4 separate regions of the Homo sapiens genome follow, and all the other regions are linked to region 4. The links are contacts of gene promoters, found by promoter capture Hi-C in human tissues and cell types (Jung and others, 2019). All regions are on one chromosome and are shown on one strand. Each heading gives the region's core, a stretch centred on a gene start or on the middle of the fragment in contact. The rest is flanking DNA. Distances are from core to core; before and after follow the strand shown. Region 1 overlaps LRP1B (LDL receptor related protein 1B). Region 2 overlaps LRP1B (LDL receptor related protein 1B). Region 3 overlaps LRP1B (LDL receptor related protein 1B). Region 4 holds the start of LRP1B (LDL receptor related protein 1B).

Region 1 (3,791 bases), core at 938-3,437, 230 kb before region 4:
TGACAATGTTAACTAGCTGATAAAAGATGAAAAAAAGTTCCTAATTATAGTAATGTCTAAATCTTTTTTTTTTACTACTTTAATGATACATTTTAAAGTCAAGTCAAAGAATCTTATAGATACTCTTTAATTAATTCTCAAACATCCCTATCTGTATAGTTGGGACTTGACTAATACTGAATCTATATATTAAAGAAGAAACTGTTATAAGAAGGTAAATCAACTTCTCCATGCTGTGCAACAAGCCATTGTTAAATCTGGATTGGATTCTGGGCTTCCAGCTCTGAGGTCCATGTCTAACTAGAGCTTTCACTCCATCTCATGAAATTCTACTATCTTAAAAAATCTAACTCTGCCACTAAACTGACCCTCCCATGAATAATATATTCATAAAAACAAATTTTTGGAGCCTCTTTGGTATAGGAAAAATTAGAAAATACCAGCAAGAAAAGACAGTTAATATTTTAACATCTGTTAAGTTGTGAATGAGATGGAATTTTTAATTAAAAAAATACTGAGAATAATTAATCTATTTTGCTCTAGTCGGTCAAGCAATTAAATTTATTGAGCATTTTCTACATGCTAGGCAGTACACTAGGCATTGGTGAAACGTTTAAAGAATAAATAGTTTTCTTGCCTACAAAGAGTTTACAGATTTGGGGTTGGGAGTTAGGAGCCATAAACACACCAAAAATGTGATAACAAATAACTTTACTAAACAGTATTATAAAGAAACAAGTAATGTGGTAGTTACGTGGTAGATGTAACTGATGGACCAGTTACTTGTTTAGGGTAATCAGAGGATAATGTTCAAGTTTCATCATGGAAGATGAATGGAGAAGCCACGAAAACATCTGGGGAATGAACATCATGAGAAGAAGCAAGATCAATGTCAGGGGCCTTGGGAGAAATAAACACCAGAGAGCACGAAGGGTAATGGAAAGATATGATAGTGGAGCCACAGGCAAAAACGCATAGAATCATATGTCAAGTTTGGATTTTATGCCAAGTGAAATAAAACACAATTACAAGATTTTAAGCAGAGAAACAAAATTATGTGATAGATAATTCAGAAAGACCAGTGGTAGCAATATGGACCATGAGCTGTAGGAAGTGAGGAGAGAAGACAGGGAGAACAGTTGGGAGGCTGTTTATGTAGTCCAGGCTGGGTACAATGATGGTGTAGCTTTCAATTTTAGCTTTGGAAATGCTGAAACGTGGTCAGCTCAGGGTGGATTTGTAGAGATTCAGCCACCAGCACTTACTGATAGCAAGGGTGTGAGGCAAGAGGGTAGGGAAGAATCAAGGATATATCTTAGGCCTTATCCTGTAAAGGTGGTGTGTGGTTGTCCCATTTGCTAAAATGAGGAGGGCTTCTGGAGGGCATACGATTTGGAGCTTGGATGTCTAAGTGCTTTCTGGAACTGTTAGGTTTGGAAGTCTATTCTTTATACAAGTGAAGACCTTGGTGAGGCAGTGGATATTCAGTCTGATTTTAAGAGATGGGGTCCAGACTCCACATCTAAATTTGAGGAATTCAATGTGACATGCAGTGACATGAACTAAATGGTATCGCCTATGGAAAGAATGAAGCAAGAGAGAGGATAGCTAGGAGGAAACAAGCTCAGGTAATTGAAAATTATGAAATATTTTGGTCAAGGCAACCTAGCAAAGGTTAGAGAAACTAGAGGGACACAGACAACAGGACAGACTAATGTCATGTCATGGAAGTTTAAACAAGAAAACATTTCAAGAAACAAGGAAATGTACGCTGTTTTAATTGCGGCTGACAAGTCTAATAAGACAGGGACAGAGACCTGACCACCTACTTGGGTAAACTCTGGACTGTTTTCATTAACTAGAAAAATGATGGGAGCTAGAGCCTAATTAGACTGAATTAAGGAGACAATGGGCAGTGACCAAGAACATTCATATAGTATAGACAATATTTTTAAAAATACGGCTAATTCGGAGATCAGAATAATGGGAGTCCAGAGGTAAAGGGTGCATTGTTTTTCTTTAAGATGGATGATATTAAGGTAGTTTTGTGCATTGAAATGAAAAACTCCGCAGAGTTAGGAATTGGTGCTTAGAGGGTAATTGCTGGATTCAAATACTTGAGAGAAGAGAAAATATAATGTCTAGGACAAAGGGCAGGGCTGGCTCCAAAGGCATCTTCTTTAGCTGTAATGGTGGGAAGGCTGAGGAGTTGAATGGAGATAACGAAGTAAGCTAGAGAACAGAGTTAACATAAAGAGTGCAAAGGTGAATTTATTAAAAAGTACAATCATGGGAATACTTGGCAGTATTGAGGGCTCAGTTGAGATCTGTGATGATAAATTTTGAAGTGAGTCCAATCAACGAGGTTTTGTACTTTTTTTTTCAAGTTATAACTAGTCAGCTGCTTTGGTGCAGGCAAAATTTAAGACAATTGTCTTAAATTGTCAAGTGATGGTTCTAACAAACGGAGAAATTGGAGATAAACTTAAGCATGATTGGAAGTGAGTATGGATACTGATCAAGAAAGGAATCTAGGGCTGAATGAGGAGGAAAGGAGGATGCAAAGGGGAACCATGGTCAGCATGGTAATACTTAAGTAGAATGCTTCCATGTGTGAGAATCAAGCCACCTTCATTCATATAACCATCTTACAGGGAGAAAATGGATCTGGTTTGAATAGATGTGTGTGTGTGTGTGTGTGTGTGTGTGTGTGTGTGTGTGGCTAGGTGTGTATAAACATCTCTAAGAGGACTAGCCAAGATATTTGTGTGTGTCTCTGTGTATATACATCTCTAAGAGGACAAGAGATGCTTGTGTGTCTGTGTGTATACACATCTCTAAGAGGACTAGATAAGAAATTTGTGTGTGTCTCTGTGTATATACATCTCTAAGAGGACTAGACAAGAGATGTGTGTGTGTGTGTGTGTGTGTGTGTGTGTGTCTGTGTGTATATACATCTCTAAAAGGACTAGACAAGTGGGAGGGGGAAGAAAATGAGGGATGGAGGGAGAGAGGGAATTTAAAATAGAACTGTATTTATTTGAGGCAGGGATCTATCACCAAACAAAAGAGCAGTAATGAAACATACAGAGCACTTTTAGGTCTGTACACTAAAATAATTTTTTTAAAAAGTTCTCAAACACTGTACCTCATATTCTTATTGAAAAACAAAACAGAACAAAAAAAAACAAAAACAATGCATGATATAGACACGACACAAATTATGGAGTGTCCATGGTGAGAATCTACTTCATTCTTCTTTTTTCGTATATGCAATTCACCATACTGGATTATGTATAAAACAAAGCAAACTACTCTTTTCACATAAATTGCATTCAAATATTTATATTTTTCGAAGAAAGTTTTGATAACCTGGTGTCAGTGATTACCTGTGAGTCAGTGTACAGCAAACAAGTTTTTTTATCTTAATTGTTACAATACTGAATCTGCAAATTTTAATACCTCTGAAGAAGAAACTAAATAGAAATCTACCTCAGAAGATACTGATGTGACTTTTATGTTGCTCATCTTCCTGTTGATAGTATATTGATTATTGCATTAACATCACATAAACAGCAAAGCATTATAATAAAATAATTTTCTCCTTAAGTGAAACAGTTGATGTAAAAGCTTCATTGTGTGTGTTTTGGTGTGTGCATGCATATTTGTGTAAGTGTGTTTGTGTGTTAACTTTCTTTGTGGTTACAAAGTAGACAAAGACTCAGAATACTTGTAATCTTGTAAAACTAGATACAGCATGTTAAATGTTTATCGTTAGAACATGCCCAGTG
Region 2 (3,639 bases), core at 58-2,557, 200 kb before region 4:
AAACGATATTTTTATAAAATTTTAATTTACTTTTCTTCATCTTTTAAAAAAGAATTTGACTTTTTAGAGCAAAACATGTCCATATTTTGCTCATCAGATAATATTTTTCTTATTATATGGTAGACATTCATTGATTTTGCTACTCATGAGTGGTAAGTACCTGTAGGCATATCCTAATCAGTGCCATGCTTCTTTTGATTCCTTTTTAATCTACTTTTCCAAGCTTCCATTTTTCTATGCTATCTTTCAATACATTTCTTCTTTGTTTTAGTTAACTGGAGTAGTTTTCAGTTGTTGCAGCTAAGAACTCTGACTAATACATATGGCAGCCTGCTGATGCCATTGATGAGGCTTTTCTGCACTTGCATGAAAAGACTGATGGAAGAATCATAAATCCTTCTTGAGTTTTACTTGCTAACATTACATGTGTCTTCTGCTTTTCCCCATCTTCCCCCCAAGCTACAGCATCAATAATAGTCATCCTGTCCTTAGCAGCATTAGCCAAACTGAAACTCCAACTTGGCTTTACAAAAAAAAAAAAAAAAAGAAAGAAAGAAAGAAAAAAAAAAACAAAACACTGCCATGTTTTAAAGCTGTTGATGTTCTACCATCTACCATGCATCCTTCAGGAATTTTTCCTGTCCCTTCCTGTTTACAGCTGTCTATGTTCAGCTCACTCCAGTAGGGCTATGCTGTCATTCATTCTCCCCAAAGTGTAGTGGGACAACATTGACTACAGAAAAAAATAGCTTCCATTGCAGCAGCCCAAACATGCCCTGCAACTTGCCACAGGGCAAGTCTTGATGACCTTGTCCCCATCATATAGTTCAGGAAAGGAACAATATTTAAAGGATTTCATATGCATTTAGATTTAAGTTGAATATATTCTCCCTATCCTCAGAAATTACATTTTAATAGAGAGGTTTTTATTTATTAATTTTTGTATTGTACATTGTATGCACAGAAGTACGCAAATATTTTTAAATAATATCATGGCATTGAAACATATGAAAAATAAAACCTGTAGACCATTATTTGGGTCTGTAGGAAGTGAGAGTAATAATATAAAGGCTTTGAAACAACAACTGTCATTGGCTGAATACTGTATATTTTGTAATTTGTTAATGCTTATATTGTTCTTTCAAAGGTACATTCAAAATTTACAGACCTACTGCTATCACATGTACATCTGAAGGCAGACATTCTGAGTCAAACATATTGGTATCTGATGGCAGAACCATATCACTCAGAGCTCATATCTGCTTCTGGATTTGGCTTTGAAACTGTCTCAGAACTTGGCATGTTGGAAGCATGAAATTGGCAATTTCATGAAATCTTTCAGGCTCATATGGCAGAATTTATGTCTTGAAATAGAATCAAAAGTACAACTCAAAGACTGGAGCAGGAAAGGCAGGAGAAGATCACTGTGACAAGTAAGTCCTCTACTTTTGACCTCAGCTATTCTTGGTCAAGAGCAAAAACATGTAAGTCAGGGTGACTGTGGCTCAACTTCACTATAGACCTTTATTAGCTTGGCCTGGTACAGCCCTGAAATCTCCCTGATACCACATTGTTAACCTGATAAAAGTATCTTTGTAGGAGAGCATATTCCTGTTGAGAAATAGACAGCTGCCTTAGAGGGTCTGTGGTTTGATTCATTTTTGCCTGGATCCTGACCTAGGTGTCTGGCAAGCCACTTGTCTAGAATCATCAAAGCTACCCAGAAGTTGAAATATATAGTTAGCAGAAGATTTAAAGGTAAGGATAAACTATTTTTTCAAATGCTCCAGAGACACTCACATATGAAAAATACTGTCAGGTTTAAGACTAAATTAGGAGACCACTTCCAATGCCAAAAGCTATACAAACCTCCACTAACGTACACGACCATTCCTTCCCAGGAAATAACAACTGTAATAACACACACATAATACATGCACACAAAATGTCAACAATGCACTTCATAGGGTGTCACATACTTTAATATTCCTATCATCATATAGCTACGAATCATCAATTTGATTATTTTATTTGATGTTACAGTGGAGAAGTCAATCACATATAACAGGCATGCAAATGATTTTTTTTTCAGATTGAACCATTTTTTTTAAAAGACAGAAGCACAACCACAACATCGTAGGTATGCATTTCCTCAGTCCTTACACATGTGATTTGTCTGTTTACTCTTTCATGGGAAAATGATTGCTTCGTTCATCACGGTCTGTTGTAGTTTTAGAGAGTTAAAATTTTAAACTTTCACTATCATTTTTATTTTGGAAGTAAAATGCTATAAACTAAAAATTCCTAAATCTCAGGTATGCTCTGGCTTCCTTAAATTCTTCTTTCTTAGGACAGAACGTATGCAATTACAGTGTCATCTAAATATGTGAAAATGACATTCCTTTTGTTTGTTCCACAAATACTGGTGTTTGCATGAACTGAGCACAAGGTTAACATCTGGGTCTCAGAGATGAGTAAAATACAGTCTCTGCTTTCCAGATGCCTACAGTCAAGCCAGGAGAAACCGCGGATGGAAACAAAAAAAAAAAAAAAAAAAAAAAAAAGACAGTTAATGCAGCACAAGAATCCCAGATAGGGATGACTTTCAAAATGTCATGAGGACCCAAACCCATACAATTATTAATAAATGACCCTGGCAAATGAGGACTTAATCATTTTATCTACCAATTGCCCAAAAGAGCTTTTCAAAGACTACATGTCATTTCCAGGAACCCGTGGCACATTCTGGCACATGCAAACCACCACATCTTGGATTTTAAATGCTTTAGGAATGTAAAATGCTGAAACTCTGGCTCATGCTAGTGTCTTGGGACTTTTAAATATTAAACTAAGTAATAGTTATAACCAGTTCCTCCATAAAAGATATTAATGATTTTAAGTATTTGAGCTTCATCATTATAATGACCATATTCCCCTTAGCTTAATTTTTACATTTTTAAAAACAAAACTTGACATTTTAAGCCAGCAAGGGACACTCATTGCAGCACAGAATACATCTATCTGTCCTAAATGCCATAATTATTAGATGAGACTCTGCCAAGTGAGTTACTCCTTGGGGACTTCAAAGGTACATCACTTTCCAAGACACTCAGGGACTATTTAGTGAACTGCCACACTGATTTATGCAGTAGAATGGTCAGTAGTGATAGTTCAAATATCAGTAATTTGAGAAAATTAACCATCTTCCAAAATGTATACCAGTCACTGTGGTGGGTGAGCAGAAGGGATAAGTGGTTAATTTGGTCAGTGATTAACTCATCTTGCTGGTTTGAGATTTAGACCAATTTGGCTACACTTTAGGAAAGGTATTTGATTCTTCTTATCTGATGAATTTAAGCTCATGGTATTCTAAAAGCAAAAGACTGAATAATTTTCAAGGCCAAACTCTCACTTTAGAGATAAGAAAATTGACTTACTGAATGTTGTCATAATCATTAGATACAGACTCCAGAATCTCTTAGCCTTATATTTTCATATTTCCAACAAATTGATTTTCAAACTACTTCTCATTAAGATGTAACTGCCTATTATTAAAGGGGAAACCACTCCTTTCAGTTTCCTAGAGACTTCATGCTCTTTCACAGCTCTGAGCTGTTCAGCATGCTGATTCTTTTCCCT
Region 3 (3,885 bases), core at 249-2,748, 150 kb before region 4:
TCTTTTCAGTTATCTTGCCGTCTTGTGTGTTTCCTTTTCCATTAGTCAATGTTCCCCTTTAAAATACATACTGAGAAATACAATGTTGATTTGTATTTCAGTGACAAAGTCAGGAATATTCCATTTAAATTATTTTTTCAGGCCTGGGCAAAGTATAGTTATTAGGATAATGCAATAGTTCAGACACTGCCTCAGAACTGCTTACCAAATTGGATGAGGAAAAACTGCAGGTGAAGTGCAAACCATGCATATCCAAGCCTAGAAAATGACAGTGATCATCATGCCCATTATCAGAAGAATATTAATTTTGACATGATTTTCCAGTTCTTGTAATTGGTTTTTACTCTGTCATGTCTGTTCTCACTCATTAATATGTTTTTCACAACAAGAATGATAAACGGAGAACCTCTTTATATTTGAGGTCACCTTGTATAATTGATACAATAGTCCAAATCATTGAATATCCTAAATTACTCTTTCTCTAGTATGAGTGAGAGAAACAAGAGCATCACCAATTATAAAGCCTAAGAAACAGAAGCTGAACTGCTTACTCTTGAGTTATTAGCAATGCCCTTGAGAGATCTAGGAATGTCACTCATTACCTTGGAAATCAGTAAACTGGTAAATCTGTCCTTGGCACTAGGCAACTAGAACAAAGGTGAAAAGGAATAACATGAACAGTTCCCGACTGCCTGATAGAGGGCCACCAACCTTATGATGCAGTTCCCCAATGCTACAATAAAATGTCCTAGAAAGGCTTTGCACAATTACGTGGGTTTAAGTTATTATTGTCCTATTTTATACAATGATATAAGAAAACCACAGATTTTCATCAAAATATATATTATCACAAATACAAATTATGAATAACATTTTTACTAGAGATTTACCCCTCTCCCCATCTCACCTCATCTGCTTTGTTGAAAGCCTGTATCTGACATTCAGTGGAGAAACTGGAAAGATGGTTGTAAAAATAATTAGAAAGCAAATGGGAATTATGAAATTCAAAACCAAGGATCACAAACCAGATGAGAGTATAAGACAAATCAATAGGACAGCACTATCAGATTTAATTTTCTAGAGGATTGAAATATTTCCCTGCACTGTCCAATGTGGAAGTTACTTGCCACATGTGGCTACTGGGAACCAAAATCTGCTAGTGTAACTGTTAATTAAGAATCAACTGTGAATTTTCCTGAATTTTAAATGGCCCCATATAGCTAGACACTACTGGATTGGACAGCACAACTCAAGACTATGTTCACTTTGACATTTCACTTGTCTCTGAACCTGGTATTTATTTAAAAGCTACATCCTACCTATTGTCTGTTAAGAAGCAGGTTTCCTTCTCTCTGAAAAAAAAAATACCAATTTATGCAGGCAAATATTCGGTGATTATATCTTACATTCTCCAAATATTTTATAAAATAAAAGTTGGAAATATCTATTATGGGTCTCAGCTCTGCCATTAACAACTGCGTGACCTTAAGCAAGTCAGCATGTATTTGGGGCTTAGTTTCCTCATTTGTAAAATGAGTGATGAGAAGAGACCATCTACTGCCCAGATCAGTTATACAATCTTATGGTACTATGTATCATAGGACTGACAGATACTAGTAAGAGAATCAAACAAGGCCATGGTATAGAATGGCTGGTTGGGAGCTTGCTCATTTAGTTAGGGTGGTCAGGATAAACTTCTCTTAGGATTAGGCATTGGACCTGCAACCTCAATGATAACAAGTCTAACGTGAAGATCTTCAGGAAGATCAACTAAGGCAAAAGACACAGTAATTGCATAATTCCTGGGATGGAAATGGGTCTGAAAGAAGTTAAGTGTAGCTAAAATATGAGGCACAAGAGAGAGAAGGACAGCATATCAGATCACAGAGTTAAGAGGGGTCCAGAGAATCACTCCCTTACAGTCTTGATTAGGAGTTGGCATTTTATTCTGTGTTCGAGATTATAAGCAGGGGATTTAAATAAACTGATCTGTATTTTTCAAATAACATTCTAGGTGCTGCACAGAGAATGGGCAGTAGTAGGGAGAACAAGTATGGAAGCATGGAGATCACATAGATGTTTACTCTTTTTTCTTGATGCAGATTTAGTGCCAGAAGTGGCTTCTTGGCCAAAATCTGGATTTCTAGGTTTCCTTTGCATTTAAGTGTGGCCATGTGAGTAGTCCTTATACAGAGGATATAAGCAAAAGAGATGCTTGTCTTTCTTTTCTAGTCAAGGTAATTAAAAAGGAGGTGTGTCTTTCCCCTACTTCCCTGCTCTCCCTTCTGTTTGCTGGGTATCTCCACCTTCATCCCAGGAGACAATGAAAGTCATGTCTTTGAAAATGGCAGAACCTCCATTTTCTTAGATTCCTGAAAGACAGAATGGAGCAGAGCCCTTCACCTTTCCAATCACCAGAAATACCCATGTTAGACTATCACTGACCAAGTAAAAATTTTGGGGGGATTCAGATCCTTAAATATTGCTTTTTGTTTAATAATAACTCGCATTTCCCTAATTAACATAGAACCTCTCCACAACCTATGCCTGTAGTGTAGATTATAGCTAACTCAATCCGTACAGTTCTCCGTAGGTGGGTAGGTGGAGACAATGTCTTAAGGCTCTAGTGGGCTAATGGCTGACTGATATCTAAACCCATGGTCCAAATTCTTTGGAAATCTAATTTAGAACAAGCATTCAAGAAAGTATTTTTAGTTGCCAAAGATTAGTTTAAAACATGTATTATGCAGATCTATATGGAGCCACAACAAACACAATACAGAGCTTGAAGGCTTCATGATAAAAGTAAAGCATTAGAGATTTTTTCCTGGAGGAGGAAGTCTTTAGGAGACACTTTAGAGTGACTTCAGATGATATAAGCCCTACAGTGCAAATACCACTGCCCACTGTGAAATATATTCATTCTTAATTATATTTGAACGCTAAAACCACAACTAATTTTGCTCTATCTCTGTGAACAACTCGGCTATTATGATCTTTTTACAGAATGAATTCAGTGGGAAATATTGAAGTATTATGTATTTGTAATCTAAGAAAAGGAAAACACTTGTACTTTAACCTAAAATTTGCATTAAATTGTTTGAACAATCATAAGAACTTGCACTGTCTCACCTTAGTTATTCACATAACAGGATCCTGTTTGCCTGAAAATAAAGTCATTTCTATGTATAAGACAGCGTGACTTCAAAATGTGGCCTGAAAAGTTGTATGAATAAAGTTTATATTTAGAACAATGTAGTATTTGAAAAGGAGCATCCATTTTCTTTTATGCTAAACAAGCTTTACATTTCATTTGCATTTCTGTCACATTTCAACAAGATTATATGTTCAGAGAGCTGATGTTATGACTAATTTCATTCACATTTAAGAAAAAATGTAGCCAGTTTGAAGAGAAAAAATATAAAAACACTAAATAGTGTTCTAGAACAGGAAAGAGAAAAGACAATGATTTTCTGCAGCAAAATAATGTAGAACATTTTGTAAATCACAGGAGAACCACAGGAGATGTTTTGGGTTGAGATAATACTTGAGGCATGGTATAGTAAAAATAATGGACAGAAGTAGAAAAAATATCTCACTTCAGAAAAAAATTTGGGACGTATTTTTCTATAGATACTTTGTCATTACCCTTTCCCCTTTCTCTGCTACTCACACACACAAATTGGTCCCCGCTACAGACTCTCACTCCCAAGCATTGATGTCTTATTCCTGTTGTCGTTACTATTTTTAATCCCCAATACATGATTTAATTTGACTGTTCCATCAGGGCAAAACCCTATGCATTTCACCTCTCTTTTATGCCAATGGCAGACAACACAATTGATTATAAAACTATATTTTTTTTTACTGAGCCCCTATCTCTTA
Region 4 (3,753 bases), core at 1,179-3,678:
TTTGGTAACTGTGAGAATTTTAGCTCTTTGCTAACAGTTTTGAAAGTGTGTTAAATATATAATAGTGGCAAAGTGCTGGTCTACAATTATTTTTACTTGTGCTATCTGATATAGTACTTCATGTGGACGTGGTGATACAACACGACACTATTTCATTTTTTAGAAAAAAACTAGCAATCGTTTACCATGTGCTCTGCTTCTATCTTAGATGTTCCTCTCCCTCATGAAACTAAATTGGCACCAAATATAATCCTCTTAGTTATTTAATATTCTATCTCAGAAGAAAGTTGTGGGGTCTGTATTTTTTATGTTCTATACAAAATTCTCTTCAGATATTTACTCCAATCATGGTAGCAGTAGTTCTATCCTCATAAATGTATACAAAAGCATTGAGAACTCAGCTTTAGATGAAGTCAAATTTCTGGAGATTGGAGACTCAATCAGGAAGAGCCCAATAGCAGTAGTCTGCCAGTACCATTATATTTTGCTAGCATACTGGGCTGAAAATCTCCATTCTGTTCATCTGCTCTGGTCCAACTTCAAACATTTTTCCTAAGAAAGGTTGAGAGCTGATTGTTCCAGATCAAAGACATCATCATTTCAAGGCGAGCTATGTGCTTCCATTTCATCAGTATAGTTTCCAACCATTCCACACCAACTTCAAGGCAAGTTGAGCAAGTTCAGAAGCTATGGTTAGGTGGCAATGATATGCTTAAAAGATTATCACCAATAAGTGTCAGATTTCCTAAAGGAACTCAGATTAGTCCCACCACTGGTAGAGGAAATAACACGTGTAGGTATGTTACAAAGGCTAGAATCTGGCTGCCAACAGCAGGTTGAATAGAAACACTGCAGTTCATTCCCCTGTTCTTTCCTATAATGAAGCAATATTTTTTGTCAATTCATAATCTGCTTCATGTAAATACAATAACTAAATCTCCCAATGCAACATTCTGCCTATTTGCTTGGCATTGGGATCTGGGTTTCTTTCTCTCTTTCTCTCTCTCTCTCTCTCTCTCTCTCTCTCTCTCTCTCTCTCTCTCTTATTTAAACTAAAAAGCTGAACTATACCAGTCAATATAAGCTCATTTTCTGATTTTAAAAAAATCTATGATACTTCTGATTTTACTTTAACCAGTTAACCATTCCAAGGCCAGGGCCAGTGCCCCAAATATTCATCTAGTATTTTCCTCCCTTTTTCACCAGTGCATCTGTTGTCAAAGATTATTAAACTCGCACAGGGATTCTTGATTTTCCAGATGAAAAGTTTATAGAATCCCGGCTTTTTCTAATTCCTACCTCCTTTCTCCTCTGCTCCCCATATCCATTCCCTTCTAAACTTCTACCATTCACCAGCTGCTTGGAGAAAAAGGAAAAGCAAAGCGCCAGACTGGAGAGAGGCACTCCAGGGGTGGGTTAGCCCCTCAGAGCACCTGGGCTGTGTCACAGACCCTCATAATCGAAAAGTCAATTTCAAGCAGGTGCGTGCGCCCGGAATCGTCCTAAAAGCCTCTCTGCTGATGACAGGACTCTGACCCCAGTCTGCCCCCAGGAAGGGGCTATAGAAACGAAAGGGGCCTGAATCGGCGCTTTCGCCGCTCCACGGACCTCGAATGCAGCAGGTAAGGAAGTTAACCTGGGAGCTAAGTTGAGGGCGGACACGCTTAACGCGGAGAACCTGGAGCTCGCAAAAGCTCGCAGTTGAGGGCCATCGCGGAGGGAAGTCTTTCGGAAATGCGAATTCTCATTCCAACATCTGCAGCGCTTAGAATTCGCGGACAGAAGCGCACAGCCAAGTGCACACACTCCCGGAGGGGACAAAATGGGGACCGGGAAACGGCCAAAGGGAAAAGCTGTGGGGGTGCCGAGGACTCAGGCACTTGGTTCAGAAATCCCGCACCGCACCTCTCACCCCCGCACAGGGCCAGCGCACGGTGGTCACCCGGTCCCGGGGAGCGGAGCTGCAAGGACTTAAGTTTCACACTCACTTATCTGCAAGCATCGCCCAGCAGGAAAGCCAAGGAAGTCAGGGGAGGGGAGCGGGGAGGTGTTCTCCTTACCTCGGTCGGCTCCCACGGTCAGCACCCTGGCAATCGGCAATAATCCCGAGAGAGTGAGTAAGGCGAGGAGAAACTCGGACATTGTGGTCGCCCGGTAAGGAAGCCTGCGCTGGAGACTGCTCGGCGGCACCTTCGGCCCGGCGGCGGCGGCGGCGGCAGGGGCCGCTTGGAGCCTGGAATCGAGCGGCGTCATTTACAAATGTCACTGGAAATTCTTCAGCTCAATGAGTCCAGCCAGTCAGCCTTCTCCTGCCTGGAGCAGGATGTGGAAGGTGGAGGGATGCGCGCGTGCGGGAGAGAGGAGGCAGAGCGTGTGTGAGCGCGAGCGAGACGCCCGTGTGTCTTGACTTTTCAATGCAGGGTACGTCTGATCTTACATCACGCAAGAGGGGCAGTGAGAGATGCCAGCGGATGGGAATTCACTGATTAATCACCGAATCCACCACACACCCCTTCGTCGTTCACATAAATCACATCTATTACTTAATAAGAGGCATTTAACACAACAGGAAAATACCACCGCGAACGGAGAGCGCCACAAATCACAATTATTTTAATCCCCTTGAAGGGAAAGTAACTCGAAGCTGGTTCTGTGGGGATTTGGGTCTTTGGAGAAGGGAGAGACTTCTGCATTGGCCTGAGCCAGCCAGGCGCCTACAATGCTCCGCAGTTCACAGCCAGCTGAGAACCCTCAGCCGAGCACAGGGCTGCTTCTGCAGGCAAAACAAAGCTTCTCCCTTCGTTCCTCGGAAGCTTCCTTCCCGGGAAGGAAGGACAAGCCAAGGAACAGAGCTTCTCTTAGGGAAATGGTTTCCTCGGCTCTACACAGAATCCCAGTACTTCCTGAATTGCACTTTTAACTTTTATGCTGAGCAGCACCTGGGGACAAAGAGGCAAAATTTAGTGACTCAGCAGAAACAGAAAGCAAAACAACCCCCAAAGTCATTAACCGTTGCGTAAGAAGGGAAGGTTAATGGAAAAGGCTATTGAGGTCCCCAGGCAGGGAACAATAAAGCAACGAATTGGCAGCGTTTTTCTCTGGGGTTCTGTCTTTAAAAGGGTACTTCGAGCCATTTTAAACAGGCTTTGAGGGTTTTGTTGTTTTTGTTTTGTGTTTTGTTTTGTTTTCCTTTTCCATATACTACAGGGGCGGTGTAAGAACTTTCCCGAGCCATCGGAGGCATCAACGGGAATCACTGGAATAATAATATTAGTAAAGTTGTTTTTATGACCACTTAAGTTTACAACATGATCATCCCAGTCCCTAAAATTTTAGTTTGCCATTACAAAGTGGCTACGGAATTAAAACTCAGAAATCTTAATAGTTGTAGACTTACTTTCTTCCTTGTAACATCAGGAATTCTCTTCTAAGAACAAGAGTTGAAAAGGTTTTATATTTAATATTTTGAAACTGGACATGAGTGGAGAGGAAAACTATGAGAAGGGAACAGAACTAAGGAAGAGAACGATTGAAAAGTGAAGGAAGATGCTTTAAAAGCTTTATTTACTTTGCTGTTTGAGACTTATAAGTGAATGCCAGCATTACTATCTACCTATTTATGAGAGTAAAATTATCCAGAAATATCTTTAGATGCTCCTTTGAAGCCATTAAAAACTGGACTAGATGAAAGAACACAGAGATGACTTTGCAGAACATTGTCAATAATCTGTGGATTTCACCTTTTTATTCTTA

The links. The method cuts DNA at HindIII sites, captures the fragments that hold promoters and counts their contacts. A contact is called where the count stands out against the background at its distance.
Region 1: a fragment that was not itself captured here is called in contact with the fragment with the promoter of LRP1B in region 4 in 1 of the 25 tissues and cell types used here (hippocampus).
Region 2: a fragment that was not itself captured here is called in contact with the fragment with the promoter of LRP1B in region 4 in 1 of the 25 tissues and cell types used here (mesendoderm cells).
Region 3: a fragment that was not itself captured here is called in contact with the fragment with the promoter of LRP1B in region 4 in 2 of the 25 tissues and cell types used here (H1 embryonic stem cells and hippocampus).

Annotation. Positions count from the first base shown.
Region 1 is chr2:141,903,085-141,906,875 of GRCh38, forward strand. The region is part of intron 1 of LRP1B (LDL receptor related protein 1B); the gene reads right to left. Among named protein-coding and RNA genes, the nearest start is that of LRP1B, 230 kb to the right of the region's middle. The HindIII fragment of the contact is 4,185 bases long and covers 96-3,791 here.
Region 2 is chr2:141,927,375-141,931,013 of GRCh38, forward strand. The region is part of intron 1 of LRP1B (LDL receptor related protein 1B); the gene reads right to left. Among named protein-coding and RNA genes, the nearest start is that of LRP1B, 200 kb to the right of the region's middle. The HindIII fragment of the contact is 5,827 bases long and covers 1-3,639 here.
Region 3 is chr2:141,979,596-141,983,480 of GRCh38, forward strand. All of the region lies in intron 1 of LRP1B (LDL receptor related protein 1B), which reads right to left. Among named protein-coding and RNA genes, the nearest start is that of LRP1B, 150 kb to the right of the region's middle. The HindIII fragment of the contact is 6,484 bases long and covers 1-3,885 here.
Region 4 is chr2:142,128,588-142,132,340 of GRCh38, forward strand. LRP1B (LDL receptor related protein 1B) reads right to left here and starts at 2,429. Exons shown (of 91, transcript NM_018557.3): 1 at 2,061-2,429. The coding sequence starts at 2,142. RefSeq lists an enhancer at 2,297-3,496. The HindIII fragment of the contact is 3,160 bases long and covers 1,349-3,753 here.